Linked DNA regions of Homo sapiens: region 1 is linked to region 2. Evidence: promoter capture Hi-C in human tissues and cell types (Jung and others, 2019). All regions are on one chromosome and are shown on one strand. Each heading gives the region's core, a stretch centred on a gene start or on the middle of the fragment in contact. The rest is flanking DNA. Distances are from core to core; before and after follow the strand shown. Region 1 has its middle 19 kb from the start of ANP32B. Region 2 holds the start of NANS (N-acetylneuraminate synthase).

Region 1 (5,005 bases), core at 2,070-4,569, 92 kb before region 2:
AAAACACTAGGACAGATTTAACCTGATTATATGTAACAATGACTAATTTCCGATCCTGTATTTGGGTCTAAATGGCTAAATGCCAAGGTAGCATATATGGTTTAGAAGACTTGGTGGCTTTAGCTGATTATGAATCAGTGGTGGGTAACAAGATAATAAACTCTTGAAAAGAACCAATAGAATAGCATCCAAGAGGAGTGATAGGCCTACTCACTTTCCCATGGATTAGACCACACTTGGATCATTGTTTCAGGTTCTGAGCACCTCTCTTTAAAACAAAAACAAAAACAAAACCCAAGAATTAAAAAAAAAAAAAATCACCTCAAACAACTAAGGGGACTGACCACGATGGTGAAGGGACTGGTGGCCTGCCATACAAGGACTTGGGACAAGTGAGCTTTAGGAGAGCAGACCATGGGGATGGTCACTGTCTTCAGTCTCCGAAGGGCAGTTACAGAGCACTCCAGAAGGCAGGGCAAAAATAAACGAGTGAAAATTTGAGCAGATTTCAGCTCAGTTTCAGGAAAATATTTCCAATTGTCAGAACTGTGACTTCTGGTGGTCCAACCTGCTGAGGCAGTGCAGAGTTTAGTGGAGACCCTGGAGGAACGATGTCAAACATGCCCCTAAGCCAGTCTGCTCAAATATTGATTGTCTCCCCAGTGGTGGATAGCTAATTCAAAGTGTGTAGGCCCTGTACTTGCTGACCCCGTTTAGCTTACAGGTTCTATATTAAGTGTCAGACTCTTCTCATTCTAGCTCAGCATTCCAATTAAATAACCTTGGCTCCTTGCATGTGGGAAACAGGTTTCAAGCACAGAACCCCTAGCACCAAGCAGAATGGCAACATAATTTTAGCTCCTGAGCAAAACGTGTCTCACAATAGCGTCAGTACAGTGTGCACATTAACATTTGAATATGCTGTATAATAAGCGTGCTAATTACTCTGAGAAGAATACTTAAAGAATAAAATAAGCTGTGATCATTAGAGGAGAAGGGGGTTAGCAATTTATGGCATGGGCTGCTGCTTGATATTCAAAAGTACATGATGGCTCTCATCTCAGGTAAAAGGGAATTATTGAAACCATAAAAATGTAATGATCGTGGCAGATAGTGATCAGCATTTTATAGGAAATGTTTGTGGCAGAGTCTTTTTTAAAAAACACTTTCAGATTTACTACTAATAAAATGTGTCCCCATTTGGTTGTTTGGTTCCTTTGAGCAGTTTGAAATGTGAAGCCATTGTTGTAGCGTTAATCTCAGCTTTGTGGAAATGGCTGATGGAGTCTTCACCCAGATGAGCAGCTGAGATGGGGAGCCCTCAGACTGGACACGGGCCTGATAATCACCTTGCCCGAACAGAAACTGGAAAGGGGAGCTGGAACCACACTACTTGATGACCTAGACCTGCGGTTTTCAGTCTGGTCTGCACACCTCTTGGGGGTCTTAATACTCTTTCAGCAGGTTCATTAGGTCAAAATTATTTTCACAATAATATTAAGATGTTGTGTGACTTGTTCACAGCATTGAAAGACTACATATTATATAATTACATTTATATGAAATGTCTACAAAAATTAGCCAGGCATGGTGGCGCATGCCTGTGGTCCCAGCTACTTGGGAGGTTGAGGTGGGAAGATCACTTGAGCCCAGAAGGCAGAGGTTGCAGTGAGCAACCTCTGCCCTCCACTGCACTCAAGCCGGGGTGACAGAGCCAGAGCCTATCCCCCCCCCAAAAAAAGAAAAGAAAATAAAAGTCCATAATAGGTAAACCCATAGAGATAGAAAGCAGATAGTAGCTGCCAGGGACTGGGGGAGGCCAGAATGGGGAGTGATGGCTTAATGGGTACAGGGTTTCCTTTTGTGATGAAAATGTTCTGGAACTAGGTAGCAGTGGCATTTGTACGACACTGTGAATGTACTAAATGCCATTGAATTATATACTTTAAAATGCTGACTGTTACATGAATTTTACCACACACACACAAAAAAAATGTGAAGGTCGCATATTGTAGTGCATGGGAGCTTCTTCCCATCCAGAACAGAAGCTTCTTGAGGGTCTTCTAATCTTGGAAGTTCTCTTTGTTATGTGCTGTTTGAAACCAGCACATGGAAGTTCTCTTCACCACAATTCTTTCAGTAGCTACAATTCTTAAAGTAATGAAACATTTTCCCTAGTTCCCCAACACACTAGGTATTTTAAATCTACTTCTTTTAACCCTGTCTCTGCTAGTTTCTGTATCTGAAATATCTTCTGTCAACCTGGAAAGCTACTACTACCTGGCCTTTGAAACCCATCTAAAATGACACTCCCTCTGCAAAATCTTCCTGGGCCACCACGCACCCCAAGAATTGGTCCCTTCTGCCTCTCTGGATTTCTACAGTACTTTGGTTCTATTCCTTTTAACATAGTCCTGATACAAGGCCTTATCACATTGAATCACAGTTAGAACATATCACTTTTTGTTAATGTCTGTCTCCCCAAAGGTGACTTGTAAGAGCAGTATTTTCTTATCCCTAAAGCACAATGCACACACATACACAAACACACGCATACTCCAAATGTGCTCATTAACAACTATATGTTAGGTACTTTTTTAGAGGCCTTAGAGACATTAACTCATTTAATCCATATAACCTTATATACATTTTATTGATGATTCAACTCAGGAAACAAAAACTTTCAGGTTGTAAAGTGATGTTAAAACAGAAAATCCATGTGATAGCAAAACCAAACTTGGCACATGGTTGCTGCACATGGTTGCTGCCTGTTTTCTCTAACAATAGAAAAAAATGGCTAATAATATTAAGTAAATGGAAGAGACTTTATGACTTAAGTGACATTTAGGAAGATGTTTCCATACTTTTCAGACTTCATAGTGTTAGAGCTGAGAGGGACCTTGGGGATCTCCTGGTGCGAGTTAAAGGTAAGGCAGGGAAAATAGGGCTTGCCTGTACCAGAATAATCCTGTAGAAGAAATCCTGTAGAAGAAACAGGAACCTAAAGCTTAAGAGGAGGGATCGGGAGGAGGAAAAGAAGCCAAGAGAGAGAAGGCATTCATCAAGGAGAGAAAGGATAGTTAAGACAGTTATTCAGCTAGCACCTTAGAAACCCTGCCCAGAAGAGGGCCAGGCATGGTGGCTCACACCGGTAATCCCAGCACTTTGGGAGGCAGAGGTGGGCGGATCATGAAGTCAGGAGATCGAGACCATCCTGGCTAACACAGTGAAACCCTGTCTCTACTAAAAATACAAAAAATTAGGCAGAGCTTGCAGTGAGCCGAGATCGTGCCACTGCACTCCAGCCTGGGTGACAGAGCAAGACTCCGTCTCAAAAAAAAAAAAAAACCATTCATTTGTTGATTTTGTTGATTTTGTTTTTGTTTTTTTTAACCCATCCTTGCTCAAAGAAATAAAATACATTCATTTGTAAGTAACTAAAACACAACCAACAGACTGACCTAACAACAAAAGTTCACACTAAAAGTCCAGGGTAATTCAGGCTCCAGGCTTGGTTTGATTTAGCAGATCACCAATGTCATTAAAGCTGACTTTGATGTGAGATGGCTGCCAACAATTCCCAGAGCTACATAAGTCCTTGTCCATATCCAGATAGACAAAGGTCATTTCTACAAGCCTCTCTCTCAGGAGCCCCTAGAGAACCTCTGTTAATCTAAACTGAGTCATATGCCTACAGTGGCTATGTGGGGCCTTGCCCAGTGCCCCTCTTCCCTGCAGATACACCCATCCTTCAGCTGCAGGGGATATTACTGCTCTCAGCCTCAGGAAACCATTTCATGTTCTCCTAGGGTACAGCCTGAGGCCAGTGACAGGCTGATGTGGGAATACACTTCAACTTAGGACAACTCTGAAGGGCTAGCCCAGCTCCTGGGCTCCCAGTGGGACCAGAGAAAGCCTTCATTGTAACTACCCAGCAACTATTTTGCTGGTCAGCTTCTCTCTACACCCAACCCTGTCTTCTTTACTTCCTCACAGTTGTATGTCCTGAGAACACTTTTCAATAAACCATCTGCATGCCATGCACAGTAGTGCATGCCTATATTAGGTACAGATGCAATTCTGTACCAGCTACTCAGGAGGCTGAGGCAGAAGGATTGCTTGAGCCCAGGCATTCAAGTCCAGCCTGGGCAACATAGCAAGACCGTGTTTCAATATTTAAAAAAAAGAAATAAGAAAAAATAAAAATGAAAAAAAAAAACCCTTCTGCATGCAACTTTCCATCTTAAATTCTGTTTCTGGAGAACTCAATCTAAGATAGTGCTCACTTCTGAATCAATAAGTGTGACAAGATGTGGGACTATGCTGATAAATTAGGATTAATTGCATGCCCTATCCTAGAGTTGGAATCAACCTCTGTTGCTTAGAAATTAGCATTATAGTCTAGCGTGTCAGAGCTGGAAGAGTTTCAAAGATCATGCAGTCCTTCTCCTTTAGCTAATAGAAGACACAGAGAGGGGATGGAACCCACCTAAGTTACACAGTTAAACTAGGACCCAGACCCGGATGTCTTTATTCCAGAGCGGAGTTCTTTCCACTGTAACCCATTTCCCATTTTTGGTCATTAAGCAGAAATGGCAATCCATCTATCTCAAAGTGACAGGACTGCCTGTCTAACGGACCTCAACATTCTCACAAATAGGTGGTAGACAATCTCTGCACCCCATTCCTTTTCAGCAGCCTAATTTATAGACATATTTTTATTTTATTCCACTCAGGATTTAAAAATATTTTTTGAAAGAGTAATGTGTTCATATGGTTCAAAAAATATTTTTAAGTATAAAAAGGTATGCACTAAAAAGTTTCACTCCTACTTCTTCCTCATCCCACCTACTCCCCTCCCACAGGTAATTTCTCTTATTCAGTTTCTTATGAACCATAACAAGAACTTTGAAATCAATTGTTCTGATTACCAAAACAGTCTGGAGGAGTGGCGATACTGCGATGTAGAGAGCCTCAGTGAATGAAAGAATGAAATATTGACCAA
Region 2 (5,280 bases), core at 917-3,416:
GATAAGGTTACAGTTACAGGCACCCCATGGTGGAGCTACAGAGGGACACCTTGCCATGGAGCTCTAGTTATGAGATATCTCCCCAGGACAATTTCTCTATTGCAAAGTGTACTCCATACATATTGGGCTAGTAGTGCCCTGCCGATAGAGATGACGCCAGAGTCAGCCCCCAGTCCAAAACTAGGTGGCCGCTTGGGCTGGCCTCTGGATCCATCGCCAGAGGGGGTCTACAGAACCGGGGCAGGTAGCACAAGAGCAATCCCGAATGAGCCCCCAAATTTTTAACTGCTCAACTGGTTCACCATGCCCACTACCTACACAGCTGATTTATCAAAATAGGGGAATTGCAATAGAGAGAGTAATTCATGCAGAGCCAGCTGTGCAGTCTGGCTGAGTTTTATTATTACTCACATCAATTTCCCCTAGCATTCAGGGATCAGAGGTTTTTGGGGTTTTTGTTTGTTTGTTTTTGAAATGGAGTTTCGCTCTTGTTGCCCAGGCTGGAGTGCAATGGCACAATCTCAGCTCACTGCAACCTCCGCCTCCCAGGTTTAAGCGATTCTCCTACCTCAGCCTCCCAAGTAGTTGGGATTACAGGCATGCACCACCATACCTGGCTCATTTTGTATTTTTAGTAGAGACAGGGTTTCACCATGTTGGCAAGGCTGGTCTCGAACTCCTGACCTCAGGTGATCCACCCGCCTCAGCCTCCCAAAGTGCTAGGATTACAGGTGTGAGCCACTATGCCCCACCTTGGAGATCAGAGTTTTTAAGGATAATGTGGTGGGTTAAGAGAGGCCAGTATGCCAGGAGTGCTGATTGGTTGTGTTGGAGATAAAATCATAGAAAGTCAAGGCTGTCTTCTTGTGCCAAGTCAGTTCCTGGTTGGGGGACACAAGATCAGATGAACCAGTTTATCAATCTGGTGGTGCCAGCTGATCCATCAAGTGCAGGGTCTGCAAAATATCTCAAGCACTGGTCTTAGGTTTTACAATAGTGATGTTATCCCCAGGAGCAATTTGGGGAGGGTCAGAATCTTGTAGCCTCCAGGTGCATGACTCCTACGTGTCTAATCTTGTGGCTAATTTGTTAGTCCTACAAAGGCAGTCTAGTTCCCAGGAAAGAAGGAGGTTTATTTTGGGAAATAACTTATCTTATTTTTTAAATTAATTAATTAATTTATTTATTTTTGAGACAGAGTCTTGCAGTGTCACCAGGCTGGAGTGCAGTGGTGTGATCTGGGCTCACTGCAACCTCCACCTCCCGGGTTCAAGCGATTCTCCTGCCTCAGCCTCTCGAGTAGCTGGGATTACAGGCACGCACCACCACGCCCGGCTAATTTTTTTGTATTTTTAGTAGAGACGGGGTTTCTCCATATTGGTCAGGCTGGTCTCGAACTCCTGACCTCAGGTGATCTGCCTGCCTTGGCCTCCCAAAGTGCTGGGATTACAGGTGTGAGCCACCGCGCCCGCCCAGGTGATTGTATTTTAAGAGCCTGGGGCTGGGAGGTCCGGGTACTAGTCCCATCTCTGCTTTGGCTTTCTGGATGGCTTTGGACAAGCCAGTGCAACTTCTCGAACCTGTTGCCTCTCATATAATAGGAACCTCCGCCACTTCTTGAAAACTTACTACAAGCCAAGTATTGTGATCAGGGGTTTCTATACGTCATCTCACAGTTCTATTTTATTTTTTTGCTTCAGAGAGAAACAAAAATAACGCTCCGGAAGACTGAGTAACGTATATATGAGCAGGAGCTGGTGACTGGCATAGGCTGGACTCGATCCAGCTCTGTGATTCTAACTCTAGCAACCCTGTTTTTTCCATTACACCATAGGGCGCGCTCTCCCCATGCTCCTGAGAGCAGGACATAGACTATGCCCTGCGCAGGCAGCCGTCCGCCTCCTGCAGGGAATGCTTGCTCCTGGGTGCACGCACGGATACCGCGATGGTCCGAGACCACGCTCTGGGACAGCAAGCCTCAAGCCTCGCACAGGAGAGGGCCGCGGAGCTTCCTCGACCCGCCCCGCCGCCCTTCCCGCGGGAGGCCCCGCCCCCGCCCCCCGCCCCGATTGGCTGTCGGGAGAGAGGCGGGGCCTAGGGGATTGGCTGCCCGGCGACCGCGGGCTGACGTGGCGGGGCTGGCGTGTGGGTCTCGCAGCGTTGCTCACAGAACAGAGTAGAGGCGGCGGCGGCGGCGGCCGGACCCAGACTGGTAGTGAGGCTTTGGACCCCGAGCCGCTGCAATGCCGCTGGAGCTGGAGCTGTGTCCCGGGCGCTGGGTGGGCGGGCAACACCCGTGCTTCATCATTGCCGAGATCGGCCAGAACCACCAGGGCGACCTGGACGTAGCCAAGCGCATGATCCGCATGGCCAAGGTGAGGCGGCAGCTCCCGGGACCCGGGATTCGGGCGCCGGGAGGGGCGGGGCGGGGCCGCGGGGAGCCAGGGCCACACGGCCTCCGCGGCTGGGTACCCTGGTCCGGCCTCTTCCCGCCCGCCAGTTCCGTTTTCGGAATCCTTCGGATCCCTCTTCCTCACCGTGTCCGCCACCCTCGTGACCTTTCTGCATTACAGCAGCTGCCTCCTAACCCGACCTGTTTCCTCCCCGTTCTGGTGCCAGAATAATCTTTCTAAAAGTCAGACTTGATCAGACCATCCCCCCTGCCTGGCACCTTCTGTGGCTCCCTCCTGCCCGCGGGTAGAGTCGAAACCCTTTAACATAGCCTTCAAGATTTTAATGACTGGGCCCCTTCCAGCCCGTCATAATTCTTCTCTGACATTCTTCAGCGACACAGAGTTACTTTCAGGAATGACAGTTCCTGGAAGTTGCTGTGGTCTCTCTCACCCGCCATTCCCTGTATATGAAATATGAAGTGGTTAAAAGCCGGGCCTTTGAGTTCAAATCTCAGTTCCACCACTACTAGCTGTGTGAACATGGGCTGCTTACTTAGCCTCCGTGAACCCTTTTCCCCATTTGAAAACGGGGCTTGAAAACAACAGTTCTTTCCACATGGAGTTGTTATGGGGATCAAATGAGATTCTCAGATAGAGCTCTGAGCCCAGCACTTGGCACACATGAGTCGGTAAATGCGTGCTCCCTCTTCTGTTGGGACTGCCATATTCTTCATTACGACCCCAGCCCCCAGCATAAGGCCTGGCCTGCACTATGATTCTTTGGTTTAGAGATAGCTCACCCCATCTTTCCTTTCCCTTCATCAATGCTACTCAACTGATTTTGTATCATTTGTGATAGGTTTTTTAAATGTTTATTTATTTATTTATCTATGTTAGAGACAGGGTCTTGCTCTGTCACCCAGGCTGGAGGTTTTCTCTTACTGTTTTTTTTTTTTTTTCCTGGTTTTTTTTTTTTTTTTTTTTGAGACAGGGTCTCTGTATCACCCAGGCTGGAGTGCAGTGGCATGATCCCGGCTCACTGCAACCTCTGCCTCCCAGGCTTAAGTGATTCTCCCACCTCAGCCTCCCGAGTAGCTGGGACCCACAGGCGTGAACCACCATGCTGGGCTAATTTTTTTGTAGAGATGGGGTTTGGCCATGTTACCCAGGCTGGTCTCGAACTCCTGAGCTCAAGCAATCTGCCCACCTTGGCCTCCGAAAGTGCTGGGATTACAGGTGTGAGCCACCACCCTCGGCCCTTGCTGTTCCTTCGGGACTGGTTTTATGGAAACCTAATCACTGAATCATAAAAATACTTTACAAAAATAACATTGCTAACATTTTTTGAGTGCTTACTCTACCAGGTACTAAGCTAAATGCTGTACATGCACCATCTCATTTAATTTTTACAACAACCCAATGCCATGATGCTGCCGATTTCATTTTAAAGGCTAAGAGAAAATAAGTGACTTAGGCAAGGTCACATAGCTAGTATAATAAATACAGTAAGGGGTTTTTTCAGTTTTTGCTCCTAAGCCACAGGACTCCAGCCTTTCTTCTGCAACATTGTTTTCTAGAGGGAAATTCCCACTCTTAATTTGAAGGAGCAGTCTGTTTTTCCTCTTGGAATGCCGAAGTTGTAGAAATATCTAGAGATACTGAAGCCATAGAAACAAAGCTGTACTGACCAGGTGCAGTGGCTGATTCCTGTAATCCCATCACTTTGGGAGGCTGAGGAAGGCAGATTGCTTGAGCTCAGGAATTCGAGACCAGCCTGGGCCACATAGCGAGACCCTGTCTCTAATTCCATTGAGCTGGAATCTAGGTGGCTGCAGCCTTTAGGAAAGGGATCTGGCCAGCTCTGCTAGAGACACTGTGCAACTTTAGTCAGGTCAGTCTGGGCCTTGGGATCTTCATCTAGACAATGAGAGCTCTGTTGCCCAAGGTCACTTTCAGTTCTAATGTTCTTTGAACTTTCCAGCATCAAGTCCTGACTCTACCATCTTATGATTTGTCTAAGAGCAGGAGTAGTGATCTCAGCACTGACATTTCTGGACCCAAGAAGTTTTTATTTTTTTTTTTCAAGACGGAGTCTCGCTGTGTCACCCAGGCTGGAGTGCAGTGGCGTGATCTCGGCTTACTGCAAGCTCCGCCTCCTGGGTTCACACCGTTCTCCTGTCTCAGCCTCCCGAGTAGCTGGGATTACAGGTGCCCACCACCACACCTAGCTAATTTTTTGTATTTTTAGTAGAGACGGGGTTTCACCATGTTAGCCAGGATGGTCTCGATCTCCTGACCTCGTGATCTGCCCACCTCGGCCTCCCAGAGTGCTGGGATTACAGGTGTGAGCCACTGCGCCCGGCAGCCAAGAAGTTTTTAATAGCATGAATACCTCTGTGTCTACAGAAATGGCCGTGAGATGGGACTTTAGTGGGTTTTAATTACTCTTTTTCTTGAGTAGATTGTTTTTGTTTGAGTCAAGGTCTCACTCTGTTGCTCAGGCTGGAGTGCAGTGGCACCATCATAGCTCATTGCCACCTCAACCTCTGGGGATCAAGCGATCCTCCCCCCTCAGCCTCCTGAGTAGCTGGGACTACAAGCGTATGCCACCATGCCTGGCTAATTTTTATATTTTTTGTAGAGACAGGGTCTTACTATGTTGCCGAGGCTGGTCTTGAACTCCTTGGTTCAAGCAATCCTCCCACCTTGGCCTCTCAAAGTGTTTGGATTATAGGCATGGGCCACTGTGCCTGACCTCTTGAGTGTTTTTTGTTTTTTTTTTTTTATAGTCAAACAATCCGGCTTTTATATTATTGCCTCTGCTCAGTAGAAGTCATCTAGGGGCTGGGGCATTTTTGTTTTGTTTGTCTGCTTTTTAACATGTAAC

Evidence for each region. Contacts are between HindIII fragments. The study calls those that stand out against the background at their distance.
Region 1: a fragment that was not itself captured here is called in contact with the fragment with the promoter of NANS in region 2 in 2 of the 25 tissues and cell types used here (small bowel and spleen).

Annotation. Positions count from the first base shown.
Region 1 is chr9:97,961,475-97,966,479 of GRCh38, forward strand. No RefSeq gene overlaps it. Among named protein-coding and RNA genes, the nearest start is that of ANP32B, 19 kb to the right of the region's middle. The HindIII fragment of the contact is 6,260 bases long and covers 190-5,005 here.
Region 2 is chr9:98,054,566-98,059,845 of GRCh38, forward strand. NANS (N-acetylneuraminate synthase) reads left to right here and starts at 2,167. Exons shown (of 6, transcript NM_018946.4): 1 at 2,167-2,375. The coding sequence starts at 2,244. It also overlaps a transcript of TRIM14 not described here. RefSeq lists enhancers at 1,676-1,725, 2,766-2,885 and silencers at 1,916-2,265, 2,346-2,515. The HindIII fragment of the contact is 24,529 bases long and covers 1-5,280 here.